4 separate regions of the Homo sapiens genome follow, and all the other regions are linked to region 1. The links are contacts of gene promoters, found by promoter capture Hi-C in human tissues and cell types (Jung and others, 2019). All regions are on one chromosome and are shown on one strand. The core of a region is centred on a gene start or on the middle of the fragment in contact, and the rest is flanking DNA. Distances in the headings are between cores, read along the strand shown. Region 1 holds the start of THBS3 (thrombospondin 3). Region 2 has its middle 18 kb from the start of ASH1L. Region 3 holds the start of ASH1L (ASH1 like histone lysine methyltransferase). Region 4 has its middle 13 kb from the start of MSTO1.

The links. Contacts are between HindIII fragments. The study calls those that stand out against the background at their distance.
Region 2: a fragment that was not itself captured here is called in contact with the fragment with the promoter of THBS3 in region 1 in 1 of the 25 tissues and cell types used here (liver).
Region 3: the fragment with the promoter of ASH1L here is called in contact with the fragment with the promoter of THBS3 in region 1 in 3 of the 25 tissues and cell types used here (IMR-90 fibroblasts, heart left ventricle and lymphoblastoid cells).
Region 4: a fragment that was not itself captured here is called in contact with the fragment with the promoter of THBS3 in region 1 in 1 of the 25 tissues and cell types used here (liver).

The regions. Positions count from the first base shown.
Region 1 is chr1:155,205,948-155,209,570 of GRCh38, forward strand. THBS3 (thrombospondin 3) reads right to left here and starts at 1,950. Exons shown (of 23, transcript NM_007112.5): 1 at 1,851-1,950; 2 at 253-459. The coding sequence starts at 1,929. It overlaps MTX1 (metaxin 1), which reads left to right and starts at 2,748. Exons shown (of 8, transcript NM_002455.5): 1 at 2,748-3,385. The coding sequence starts at 2,858. RefSeq lists an enhancer at 951-1,734 and a silencer at 3,098-3,297. The HindIII fragment of the contact is 12,638 bases long and covers 1-3,302 here.
Region 2 is chr1:155,579,079-155,582,444 of GRCh38, forward strand. It overlaps a transcript of MSTO1 not described here. Among named protein-coding and RNA genes, the nearest start is that of ASH1L, 18 kb to the left of the region's middle. The HindIII fragment of the contact is 8,727 bases long and covers 1-3,366 here.
Region 3 is chr1:155,560,897-155,564,402 of GRCh38, forward strand. ASH1L (ASH1 like histone lysine methyltransferase) reads right to left here and starts at 1,907. Exons shown (of 28, transcript NM_018489.3): 1 at 1,257-1,907. ASH1L-AS1 (ASH1L antisense RNA 1) reads left to right here and starts at 1,146. Exons shown (of 2, transcript NR_147964.1): 1 at 1,146-1,390; 2 at 2,354-3,048. It also overlaps a transcript of MSTO1 not described here. RefSeq lists silencers at 1,698-1,847, 1,898-2,037, 3,122-3,416 and an enhancer at 1,926-2,493. The HindIII fragment of the contact is 36,648 bases long and covers 1-3,506 here.
Region 4 is chr1:155,621,444-155,624,766 of GRCh38, forward strand. It overlaps the pseudogene LOC100419798. Among named protein-coding and RNA genes, the nearest start is that of MSTO1, 13 kb to the left of the region's middle. The HindIII fragment of the contact is 8,414 bases long and covers 1-3,323 here.

The DNA of each region.
Region 1 (3,623 bases), core at 700-3,199:
AGGCATCCCCAAGTACAACCTCCCATCCCTATAAATATCAGGACTCAAGCCTCACCCTATTGTTTGGTACATGGGCTCCTAAAGCACCTTATAAGCACCCCATACCAGGTGCCCCTGATGTCTGGGCACAGCCTGATGGGACCTTGGTCCCTAGTGGAGGCCAAGGAGAATGAGGAAGCACTTGGGAAGTAGGGATGAGGGAGAGTGCTTAAGGAGGTCACCATTGCAAGAAAGGAGATGCCCACCAGTCACCTTTGTTGATCTTGCCTACAACAGAGGCCTCCAGCCATCGAGTGTTGTCTTGGCGAGAATAGAGGCCAAAGAGGACACCACCCTGCTTGGGGGGCAGGCGGAAGGTGGATAAGAGGTAGATGTCCCCAGCAGTGAGCAAGGCTGTCCGGATCTTCTCTGCCACAGCTACCATCTGCCGAGACTCGCCCACAGTCAGCAGGTCAATTACTGGTCAGGCAGGGGTTATCAAGGTTAGAGAATGGGATCAAATGCTAAGGTATGCCCTCCCCCGAGCCCACATCACCCCCTACCCCCACCACCAGGCAGCGTTAGTCACCTCAAAATTCAACCCTTGGCTGGGCATGGTGGCTCGCACCTGTAATCCCAACACCTTGGGAGGTTGAGGCAGGTGGATCGCCTAAGGTCAGGAGTTCGAGACCAGCCTGGCCAACACGGTGAAACCCCGTGTCTACTAAAAATACAAAAACAACAACAAAAAAGAAAAAAAAACCACCTAGCCGGGCGTGGTGGCGGGCACCTGTAATCCCAGCTACTCAGGAGGCTGAGGCAGGAGACTCGCTTGAACCTGAGAGGTGGAGGTTGCAGTGAGCCGAGATCGCGCCATTGCACTCCAGCCTGGGCAACAAGAGTGAAACTCCATCTCAAAAAGACAAAACGAAAACAAAAAAAAACCTCAACCCTTGTTGCTCTCAGAGGACAGAGGCACTGTGCCTTCCTTTCCCCATTATTGCCTATTACTACCTTCCAGGAACCTGCAGGTTTGAGACTCACTTGGAAACACAGAAACAGCACCCCACAAATTTGAGATGCCCCCACCAGGTGGCGCAAAGGAGATGCTGTGCTGATCCCCCACAGGAGTGGCACCTGGTGTCCACAACGTAGAAATGGAAGGCAGCTTCTCTTTCCACTCCTGGGTTTGGCTCGTTCCACACCCTAGTTCCCCTCCTCCCATCCTAGGGGCGCAGCACACTCGCTCTGGATAAGAACAGCTGCCCACTGAGGACTCTAACCCTCCCACCATCTGGGCTATCTCCCACGGGAATGTAGGACCCAGCTCCTCTGCCTCCTGTGTCCTGGCCAATCTGTGGTTTTCCCTCCAGCCAGTAAAGAATCTATGCCTGTGTCATCTGCTCCAGCTACCTCTCCCACATCCATCGGCCCATCCCACCACCAGACCTCCGGGAGAGCCCAGGCTTCTTGGTCCCCACCCCCGCCCTGTCCTTGGGCAGCCAGGAGCCCAGGGGGACGAAGCCCAGGGACCTACAGTACGCCCACCTTCAGGCTGCTCTCCCAGACCCTAGGGTGCCTACAGATGCTCAGGAACCACCCCAGCCAGGCAGCCTGAGCATCCAGTTCCTGAGTCCTCTGCCCTGGCCTCATGCCTGACCCTGTCCTGTTCCAGCTCCCCCACTACTCTCCGGTGCCCACTCCTCTCCACCAGGCCATAATTTCACCAACTCTAGGCAGTCTTAAGTTTTCCTCTGGCTCAATTTCTGGACTCTTCCCCTCTCCCCTTGCCCACATGTTCTCTGCTACTTGGGCTGAGGGCAAATGGGGAAGAAGCAGAGAGCGGTCTAAGAGGATGGAGACAGGCTTACCCTGCAGATCCTGACTGGCAGATGTGAAAAAGCAAAGGAGGAGAAGAGCCAGGGCCCCCCGAAGTTCCTGCGTCTCCATGCCTCTCAGCCGGCTCACTACCCCTGGCAGGCAGGCAGCTGGGAGGGGAAAAGGCTAGGCGGAGAGAGCAGGAGCCGGGGGGCGGAGGGACAGAATTGGAGGGGGGGCCAGCAGGCGGGTGAGGGGGGGCTGAAACAAAGAGCTGCCAATCACCCTGGAGGCATCATCAGCTCTGGGAACCAGGGGCACTGGGAAAGAATCCTGGAGGCCTCCCTGCTTTCTACCTCTCCCTAATGATCCTCCCCCAGGTGCCTCCCTCTCCGCAGTCATCATTGTTGGGGGTCTCGGCACACAGCGCTACCGAATGCCACTGTTTTCTGGAAGCCACGATTGTGGAAGGCAAGAACCCCTGGCAGGGGCAGTGCTAGACAGTGGGCATTATTCCACAGCTGGCAGGAAAGGATGCCAAGGGAGTGGCCGCAACTAGCTTGCTATAGTGCCCAGGGATGCCCACATGGCATGAATTTTGCTGTTCTGGCGGAGCAAGTGCTCTTTATTAGGGTGGGGGGTCCCCTGACAAGTGCCTGTTTCTCCATTTTCCCTCATTCGTAGGAAAGCTTGGGAGTCTGGAAGCGTCTGACGGGAACTGAAGGGAGAATCTAAAGCAGTGGTCAGTGAGGTCAGAGTGAAGAAACCAAAAAAGAGGAAAGGGACACCAGGGACAGGCGCAGAAGACCAGGGGTACAGGCGAGGAGCCAAGGACCAGACTGTGGAACACTGTGGGTACTAGCGGACGGGCCGTGACCCGGATGAAGCAGAGGGGCGCCTGAGTTCCCGTCACCTAAGCGACAGCCTGCGAGCCTCTCTTCCCCTCCCCCACCCAAGCCCCAGCCCGGCCTCCGCTCCGGCCGCCGCCACCGCCCCTGTTTTGTTTCCATGGCGACAGGCGGCGCAGGGCCCGCTCCAAACATAACGCGCTGTGGAAAACATGCTGCTCGGGGGACCCCCCCGCAGTCCCCGCTCGGGGACGAGCCCCAAGGGGCCCTGGAGCAGTACAGGCCACGTGCAGTTTGGCAAGAGCCCCCAGACCTGGCCCAGGCGCACAAGACCCCGCTCTCCAGAGCCTGCCGCGCCTTCAGGGGTTCGGGGCTCCACTTGGACGAGGCGCCGTGACTCTCCGAGGCGCGCCGGGCCGACAGCGCTGTCCCGCTACGTGGGCCACCTCTGGATGGGCCGGCGGCCGCCCTCCCCCGAGGCCCGCGGCCCAGTCCCCCGCAGTTCAGCTGCCAGTCGGGCCAGAAGAAGCCTCGCCTCCCCGGGGATCTCCCCAGGCCCCCTGACCGCAACGATCGGAGGGGCGGTGGCGGGGGGCGGGCCCAGGCAGGGGAGGGCAGAAGCACACAAGGAAGTGTTTCCGGGACAGAGGGTGGGCAAGATGGCGGCGCCCATGGAGCTGTTCTGCTGGTCAGGGGGCTGGGGGCTGCCGTCAGTGGACCTGGACAGCCTGGCCGTGCTGGTGAGGGGTGGCGCCGGCGCCCTCTGCTGTGCCCTGATGACTGGGGAGGGGGCCGAACTAGCCAAGCATCCAAACCTTGCCAGGGCTACTCAGCACGGGCGCAGTGGGGGAAACTGAGGCAGTCAAAGAGCGTACGTGGCCGATATGGCCTCAGTGCCCTATGCTGTAGTTTTCTAGGCTTAATGCAGCAATGAAAAGACGCCTGGTTGGGAGTTCAGGTGATGGGTTCTAGTCCTTG
Region 2 (3,366 bases), core at 178-2,677, 370 kb after region 1:
AGGCGGATCACCTGAGGTTGGGAGTTCAAGACCAGCCTGACCAACATGGAGAAACCCCGTCTCTACTGAAAATACAAAATTAGCTGGACATGGACATGGTGGCGCATGCAGGCAATCCTAGCTACTCGGGAGGCCGAGGCGGGAGAATCGCTTGAACCCGGGAGGCAGAGGTTGTGGTGAGCCGAGATCAAGCCATTGCACTCTGGCCTGGGCAACAAGAGTGAAACTCCATCTCAAAACAAGCAAACAAACAAACAAACAAACAAACAAACAAAAAACCCAAGAGGAAGACTAGGACAGTGAATGGAAGCTACAAGGAGACATGTTGCCTCGAACTACTGAAGAACTTTTATTAAAAGCTGTGTAAAAACCATAATGACTTCCTATTGAGTTCCCCATCACTGGAAATCATTAGGCATTTGCTGATTGACAGTGTAGCATATATAGTGGCTAATGGGAAAGGCTTGAGAGTCAAACATAGATTTCAATTCTAAAACTGCCTGATTTTAGGATATATACCCTTGGAGTTAATCTATCCATACTTATTTTCAGCTGAGCATAATAACGTGTACCTGATGGGACTGTTGTAAGATAATGCCTTTAATTTGCTTATTATAGAGCCTATTTCAGAAAAATATTCAGTGATTAATATTAAGATCAATGTAGCACTGATTTAGTTCTGAACGAGTTCAATCCTTAGACTAGGTCGACATAATCTTAAGCATCTGTGGTTCTCGCCTGTAATCCCAGCACTTTGGGAGGCCGAGGCAGGCAGATCACTTGAGGTTGAGGAGTTTGAGACCAGACTGGCCAAAATGGTGAAACCTCGTCTCTACTAAAAATACAAAAATTAGCCAGGCGTGGTGGTGTGTCTGTAATCCCAGCTACTTGGGAGGCTGAGGCAAGAGAATTTCTTGAACCCGGGAGGCAGAGGTTGCAGTGAGCCGAGATCGGGCCACTGCCCTCCAGCCTGGGCAACAGAGCAAGAGTCCATCTCAAAAAGAAAAAAAAAAAAAAAAGAATCTGTTATTCTCTCTGGGTATAGTGGCTCGCACATGTAATCCCAACTACTCGTGAGGCTGAAGGGAGAGGTTGCATGGCCAGCGGTTTGAAACCAGCCTTGGTAACATAATGAGACCCTGACTCTAAGAAAAAAAAAAAAAAGGGCCGAGTGTGGTGGCTCACACCCGTAATCCCAGCATGTTGGGAGATGGAGGCAGGACGATCCCTTGTGCCCAGGAGTTTGAGACCAGACTGGGCAACATAGTAAGACCCTGCCCTGTCTCTACAAAAATAATAAAAATAAATTAGCCAGGCGTGGTGGTGTGCACCTGTGGTCCCAGTTACTTGGGAGGCTGAGGTGAAAGGATCATTTCGGCCTGAGAGTTCGAGGTTGCAGTGAGCCGTGATCACGCCACTGCACTGAAGTTTTAGCACATAGTCTTTGGGATACCTTTCTAAATTTGGCACAGGCTGTTTCTGACTTCCTTCTGAAGTTACATTTGGCCTGTCTAGGCAAGAATACTCTTTTTGTTGTTTGTTTAAAGAAAGATAATTTGGCCAGGTGCGGTGGCTCACGCCTGTAATCCCAGCACTTTGGGAGGCCGAGGTGGGCGGATTGCCTGAGCTGAGGAGTTCAAAACCACCCTGGGCAACATGGTGAAACCCCATCTCTACTAAACACCAAAAAATTAGCCAAGTGTGGTGGCATGCATCTGTACTCGGGAGGCTGAGGCAGGAGAATTGCTTGAGCCCAGGAGGCAGAGGTTGCAGTGAGCCAAGATTGTGCCACTGCACTCCACTTGGGTAACAGAGTGAGACTCTGTCTCAAAAAAAAAAAAAAAAAAAAAGGGAGAGAGAACTCTAATACTCTAACACTACCTAAACAGTTTCATCAGAGTAGCGGCAGAGTTTTACACACAATAGTGTGTAAGAATCTGTGGTTTCTTACAGATTATTACAAATACAAAAAAATGTCTTTTTACATGCATTTGGAAAAGCTTCAAAAGACTAAGGCAACTATTTGGGATTTGTTTATCTACATTTTATTTTGTTTTTTAATTGTTTTTAAGAGACGCAGTCTTGCTATCTTGCCAGGCTGGTCTTGAACTCCTGGGCTCAAGTGATCCTTATACCTCGGCCTCCCAAAGTGTGGGCATTATAGGTGTGAGTCACCTCATCCAGCCATTATCTACATTTTAAATAAAGACTGTGGTTGGAAGCAGAACTCTTTTGTCTTGGAATACTTGAGGCAGATAATGGGGAAAAGCTCAGAATGATGGCAGTTGAAAAATATTGGAGAAGTATTTTATTTTACTTTATATTTTATTATTATTATTATTTTGAGACAGAGTCTCACTCTGTCGACCAGGCTGGAGTGCGGTGGTGTGATCTCAGCCCACTTCAACCTCCTCTTGAACCTGGGAGGGTTCAAGCAGTTCTCATGCCTCAATCTCCCAAGTAGCTGGGATTATAGGCATGTCCCACCTCGCCCATCTAATTTTTGTATTTTTAGTAGAGATGGGGTTTCGCCATGTTGACCAGTACTCCTGACCTCAAGTGATCTTCCTGCCTCAGCCTCCCAAAGTACTGGGATTACAGGCGTGAGCCACTGCGCCCGGCATGGAGAAGTATATTAATGACATTTTTGAGAATTTTGTTTGTTTTGGCTTCCTATTAGGCTGGAGATAATTATCATTCATCTTTAATTTTTACCATAATTTTTTTTTTTTTGAGATGTAGTCTTGCTCTGTCACCCAGGCTGGAGTGCAGTGGCGCGATCTTGGCTCACTACAACCTCCGCATCCCCGGTGCAAGCGATTCTCCTGCCTCAGCCTTCCGAGTAGCTGGGACTACAGGTGTGCACCACCATGTCTGGCTTTTTTTTTTTTTTTGAGTCGGAATTTCGCTCTTGTTGCCCAGGCTGGAGTGCAATGGCATGATCTCGGCTCACCGCAACCTCCACCTCCTGAGTTCAATCATTTTTTGTATTTTTAGTAGAGACAGAGTTTCACCATGTTAGCCAAGGTGGTCTCGATCTCCTGATCTCATGATCGCCCGCCTCGGCCTCCCAAAGTGCTGGGATTACAGGCGTGAGCCACCACGCCCGGCCAACCATCAGTCATTTCTCATAGGAAACCTGTCCCTTACCTACCGTCCAGTTACAAGCAAAATGTTTAACTTGTGTTCTGCAGAGAAGTGTTCAAATGACATGAAAAGACTGAAAACAGAAATCAGTACGCAATTTTTCATAGTATTAGTGGCATTCAGCCTTATCTTGCAGAGTCCTGATTTGTATATACCCTGGAAAATAGAATAAGCAAACATTCCTCTCTTTTGTGTTGATTTGGCTTGTTGATAGGATTT
Region 3 (3,506 bases), core at 657-3,156, 350 kb after region 1:
CCACATACATATCTGACACAATCGGTCTCCCCCAAATACAAGCCAACCAGTCTTATGTGCTCCTATCTTTCCAGCATACTCAGATTTGCCGACAAAGACTTCCTGAGGCACCATGGTATGCTGAATATACTGCTGCAGTAGTAGTGAAAATATGGGAGTTACAGTTCCAACTTTGTCACCAATTTAACATGCGGCCTTGGAGAAGTTCTCTCCTTATGCCTAAATTTCCTATTTTGTAAAATGGAAGAAAGCATCCTACCATTTTCACAGAGATTCAGTATCACAAAAAAACTGAAAGAGCTTTCTTATTGTATTGTAAACTATTACTATAAACCCGCGACAACAAATAAGGCCACCCATTCTTTACAACTTTGTAGTAATGATTCTGTTAAAGATATTTTGGCCCTTCACATTTACACAACTCACTCTAACCAAAGGCACAAACTATTCTTAAGACCACAACTGGCTATGCCAAGTTTCTCCCCTCCCTGACCTCACAGACACATGCTGTACAGAACACTACCATTGCCGCTCTTTCCCAACAAGTAACTAGGGGCTCCCAATCCCTAAAATACACACACATATCAACCTGCAAGGAACCTCCCAACATTTATTCAAGAAATAAGCTAACTTATAAGGGGAACTCCATTACACTTACACAAATAAAGGCAAACTCTTACGGAAACACTTGCCATCCTCACATACACACACCAACACAGCCGCTACACACCAACAGACCATCTGTCTGCTAGACCAAAAACATCTCTTTCCATGTACAAACTAACCAGTGACATTTATTAAACTTACAACACTGAGATCATCCTGTCGTTCCCACATACCGTTCAACGCGGCAGGGACACCACAGACCTTGTCACACAGGTAAAATCCCCTCTCAAGATCGTGTCCTCGACCACTCTTATCCCTTAATTAAACACACACAAACTGGACTATGGGGGAGGCTCCGATCATGCCTACAAACACAAACTAACCTGTCAGGGGCACAGCCGACTCCGCCTCCACTCGCTTACTTCCCAGCCCCCTCCGGGAGTCTGCCTGTCAGGGACACCCCTTCACCCCGCCTGGAGGGACTTCCCGGTAGGCTCAGGATCCCCCTCCCTGCTCTCCCCTCCCCCATCTTCACCACTGCTCTCTCAGAGATCCAGGTCCGGGAGATGACAGTGGCTCCCAGAAAGCCCAGGATTCAATCGCTGAGAGAGTGCTTAGGCCCGAATGCCGGCCCAAATCGTTCTACTCACCGTGTCGGAGGCCGAGGCCGAGGCCGAGAGCGATGAGAGTGCAGGGAAGTGGGGAAGAGGGGGTGGCCGCCAGGCTCCTCCGCTTCCCTGGGTCCACGGCGGATCCCTCCCGCTTGTCAGGAGGCGGCCAGCGGGTAAGCTGACTGGCGGAAATGCGAGAGAGGAGAAGGGAAAGGTGGAAGGCTAAAGGGGGCAAACTGAGGGGAGGCGGGTCCCGCAACCGAGACTGGGATCGTCTCCCCTCCGCAAAGCGAACCCAAAATGGCGGCGGGAGCGGCGGCGGCGGCGGCGGCAGCAGCAGAGTGGCGGCGGTGGCGGCGGCAGCTCCTCCAGAGGGAGGGAGCGAAGGGCGCCTAGCGCCCCCCTCAACCTTCCACTCCTTCCTCCTTGCGTTCTTTCCCACCGTCCCCCGCTCCGCCCGACTCCGTCCGCGTAGCGCGCACGCCCGCCCGCACGCGTACGAGTGTCTACGGGCTCGTCGCTGGCTGCTCCCACCAACCACCACCTTCGGCCGCCCCGCGCGCCAGCCAGCCCGTACGCGCTCACCCACAGGAACCCCCTCGTCCAGTCCCTCACTACCCCTCAGGCCCTGTCAAGCCGGCGCCGGCGCAGGCCCTCACGCGTACCTTCAACGGCGCAAGCCCAAGCCTCCTCCTCCTCCTCCTCCACCTCCTCTTCTCTCCTCCCCCCCCTTCCCCGCCCCCACGGCCACCAACCGCCGCCACGGCCGCCGCCGCCGCCGCCAGCCCCCCCTACCACCCTCCACCCCTCGCGCGTGCGCCTCCCACAATCCCCCCCGCGGGACTGTTCCATTCCTGTCGGCTGCAGGGGCAGGAGAGGAAGGGACGGGCCGAGCGGGTCGGGGCTTGCCGTTTGACTGGAATTGCCAGAATGGCGGACCGAGCCCCACGACAACCTACCTCCCTGGGCTCCTCGCCGCAGCGCTGCGGCTCGCCTCCCTCTGCTCCTCCTCCTCCGCCGGATCGCGGCGAGCGGATCGAGGACTGCCTAGCGCCCCTCTGCCCACCGGTGGTTGGAGGCCGCGGCGGCTGCGCGTTGAGTCGTTTCCTGCCGGTTGACCTGAGCCTACTTCGCAGTAGCAGGACCGCTGCTGTGGAGCTGGTCGCAGGCGGTGTGTGCCGGTCGCCTAGTCAGGAGAACTAGTCCTCGACTCACGGTGAGGGAATGGACCGACACGGGTATTGTACCGCTGAGGGAAAGGAGCGGGACTCCGGACCTCCAGGAGGTAGGGAGTGAGGCCAGTAGGACCGGCGCGCCTCCGGGGGGATTCCTCCCGGGCGTTGAGTTGCCAACCTGGGACCCGAGGAAGATCGGCGTGGTGGTGTGCTTTTTGTTGTTGTTAACCCTCCTCGGATTTCTCGAATTTCACACCACTGTCCATATGCGATGATGTTTGTTTGCCCTTGACGCACTTACTCATGGATGGTACTTCTTCAGCCTCGTTAGACAGCCTGGTGATGGAGGATGAAGAAACCATGTGCTTTTCATTCAGTTCTGGACTTAGTCTCCCTTTTCTTCCTTCAGCAAGTTATTTTTGTTAGTTCCTTATCAAAAAGTGTACATAAAAATTAGGCAACTCCAAACATGCCTCCAGGGTTAATGTGTGAAATAATAAGATAATATATGTAAAGTGGAATTAGCTCCTAGGCATAGGGAAAGTGCAGAATATTGCCGTGTTGTCATTTACAGTTCTGTTGATGTCGATAACGTTTGTGGGTGTAATTGGTAGTGTTCTGTCCCTCCAAGGAGTTAATAAAACAAAGCAAACATAGGCCTGTTAGGTTTCTGTGGCTACTGAATATTTGTTTCTCAAAACACTTGACTGATATTTGATAATTGAATGCAGCAGAAATACGGACGATTAAAGTCCACAAATAATTCCAAAGTTTACTTGATCTAGTAGTTTTTACCTTTACCTAAAGGGTAAAGCAGAATAAATTACCGGAAGGATCTACTTGGGTTTCCCTTTCCTTCACATTTGTGGACTCCTGGGGATCCAGGAAGTAATTCAGAAATGACTGTTCAAAAGCCCATGCAAGGCCGGGCGCGGTGGCTAACGCTTGTAATCCCAGCGCTTTGGGAGGCCAAGGTGGGCGGATGACCTGAGGTCAGGAGTTCGAGACCAGCCTGGCCAACATGGCAAAATCCCGTCTCTACTAAAAATACAAAAATTAGCCAGGCGTGGTGGTGGACGCCTGTAATCCCAGCTACTCAGGAGACTGAGGCAGG
Region 4 (3,323 bases), core at 548-3,047, 420 kb after region 1:
AAATTTGATTTTGGGAAGCCTGTTGAATATGTTACAGGTTTTTGTTTTTGTTTGTTTTTGAGACAGAGTTTTGCTCTTGTTGCCCAGGCTGAAGTGCTGTGGCACAATCTCGGCTCACTGCACCCTCTGCCTTCCAGGCTCAATCTATTCTCCTGCCTCAGCCTCTTGAGTAGCTGGGATTACAGGCATGCGCCACCACGCCCAGCTAATTTTGTATTTTTAGTAGAGACAGGGTTTCCCCATGTTGGTCAGGCTGGTCTCCAACTCACGACCTCAGGTGATCCACCTGCCTCGGCCTCCCAAAGTGCTGGGATTATAGGCGTGAGCCACCATGACTGGCCCTTACAGGTTTAAAACTCTTGATATTATGAAATAGAATTTTAGATTACCATAAGTCATTTGTTTTGCCAAAAGGATGACTCAAAAATTTGAAAAAGCAAAATGCTTTGATTAGCCTTTACTATTACATAAAAATCCTGTTCAAGAGAGAAAGCCAAATTTTACCCTTGCATAAGTCTGCTATTAATGTTAACCCCAATTTTAATGAAATCCTATAGACAATTCTATTTAATCTTTTTTTTTTTTTTTTTTTTTGGCAGTGGCAAGATTTATTAAAGTGAAAGTAAAGTTTCCACATGGTGGAAGGGGACCTGAAAGGGCTGCCATTTTTGGCTTGGGTGTCTTATACTTATATCCCCTTATGACCCCTCCCCTTTTTCTTTTTCTGTCCTATAGAATTAGCTTATTTTCTATCCACTTGTGGGTAGGTGGGCATGATTGGTTAAAAACATCAGGCTGCAGCTAGAGCTTAAACTCCCTATATGATTGGTTGAAGGTTCAATCCCTTAGTTTGCAGCTATAACTCATTTTGGCTTAGGGGAAAGTTCCCTTAGGGAAGTCCCTATTGACCCAGGAAGTCCAGCCAACTTAGCCACTTAGTCCCTCAGTCCCTCCTCTCAAAAGGAAAGCCCAAGTGCCGTTGGGAAGTTGGGCAACAATCATTCTAGCTACTTCCTGCTGAGCTGGGGTGTAGAAGGGGCTCTGCAGTTGAGCCTTCCTCAGGAGGGGAGTCTTCAGTGTCATGGTGCAAGAACAGATTGGTGGGTCAGTCTAGGGGTCCTCGATAGCAGGTGCTAGTGGTGGTCATTTGGGGCTCCATCTGTAGAATCATTTGCAGTTTCATGGATTCTATTCTGGAAGAGACAAATTTTACAAGGAGGTTAAAAATGCAGGGTCCAGAGATAAGCAACATCACAATAGCCACCAAGGGTCCCAAGAAGGGGAGAAACCAGGGCATCCATTGGTTGACAATACTCCAAAGTCCTGTGTCTTGGAGCTCTTGTGCCTGGCACTGTATCTGGTCTCGAAGCTCCTTAACCTTTTTTGGTGACAATTCTGTATTGATTAACAAAATAGTAACACTCTTCTCCTAGAAAAAGACAGGTTCCACTTCTTTCAGCTGTTAATAAATTTAAGGCTTTCCAATTCTGGAGGGCTACTGCTGCTAAAGAGTTAAGCTAGCTTTGTAAGGTGACCAGTGAATCTGCAACTCGTTCCATGTCATCATTTAACTCTTGTGATAATTTGTAATATGTTGGGGTGATCAGACCCAACACCAGGCTGTGGGGGCTACGAAGTCCGGCGGAGTCAAAGGAATGAGATAAGTTAAGAGTGCAAGAAGTGGGACCAGGGGGTCAATGCTAGTATGGAGGCTGTGAAGGCCCTGAGCTCTTGAAGCCTGCACTATTTATTGGTGATCAAACAAAGAAGCAGGTGGTGAGGATGTGGGGGTTCAAAGAAAGCAGTGTATCAAGTGTGTGATCTACAGCTGTGACAGTTTAGCATTTTCTTTGAAGCATATGGAACATGTTCTGCTACTTGAGATAATGGGGAACATGTTCTTCTAGTTTAAGACACAATCGATCTATGAGCCTGGGAGGGCTAGAAACAAGGAGCCAGCAAATCTAGACACATTCCAGAGGCCACAAGGGGTTTTATGCCCTGAGCCCTGGATTCCATTCAAGCCATGAGGGGTTTTATGCCCTTGGCTTAGAGTGTGGTGCAGCAGGGCAGCCTTTCACCCTTTGGCACAGAGCTTGGTGTTCCAAAGGCCACAAGGGGTTTTAGACCCTGGACCCTGGACCCTGGACCTGTTCTAAGACTCTTTTACATTATATCAGACATGCAAGCCCTGCCTCAGCTTTTTCCCCAACACTCAGCTTTTTTCCCAACACTCAGCTTTTCCCCAACAGTAAGAGAATTGGGTGGAGGTGGTAATGCCTCCAATGCCAGTTCCTAGACCTCCTAGTATCCTAGCCCTGAAAATGAATGGCAGGATAGTCGAGGTATGCTGAGATGCTGGGTTTGACAGATCTTTAAAGGCAAATAAAAATTGCGAGTTAGGATGCAGAGGGATGCAGAAGAAAGCGTCCATAAGATCTAGGACTGTAAACCATTCTGCTTCCTCTGGTATCTGGGAGAGTAGAGTATAAGGATTAGGTACAACTGGATTGTTGGGAACAAGCCCCTCCAAATCTGGTCATAAACTGGCCCCAAAACTGGCCATAAACAAAATATCTGCAGCACTGTGACATGTTCATGATGGCAATAAAGCCCATGCTGGAAGGTTGTGGGTTTACCGGAATGAGGGCAAGGAATACCTGGCCCACCCAGGGCAGAAAACCACTTAAAGGCATTCTTAAGCCACAAACAATAGCATGAGTGATCTGTGCCTTAAGGACATGCTCCTGCTGCAGTTAACTAGCCCAACCTATTCCTTTAATTTGGCACATCCCTTCATTTCCCATAAGGGATACTTTTAGTTAATTTAATATCTGTAGAAACAATGCTGATGACTGGCTTGCTGTTAATAAATACGTGGGTAAATCTCTGTTCAGGGCTCTCAGCTCTGAAGGCTGTGAGACCCCTGATTTCCCACTTCACACCTCTATATTCTGTATGTGTGTCTTTAATTCCTCTAGTGCTGCTGGGTTAGGGTCTCCCTGACCAAGCTGGTCCTGGCACTGGATACAGGGGAACAACTGCCTCAATGATAATTCAGAGGTCTTTCACTAACCTCCACTGTCTGTTGGGTTTTTGTATGCCTAGAATAGGACTGTTGCCTGGACTGTTGCATGGCTTTACTAATCTCTGTGCTTGTAGGTCTTTGACAATCTTTTGTAACCCTTGTTGGGCTTCTGGTCAGAGGGGGTACTGCTTTGATAAGGAAAGAAAGTAGGATCCTTTAATTTAACTTGAACTGGACAAGCATTTTTTGCTTGTCCATACTGCTCTTGCTCTTCCTCTGCCCAGACTTCAGGATT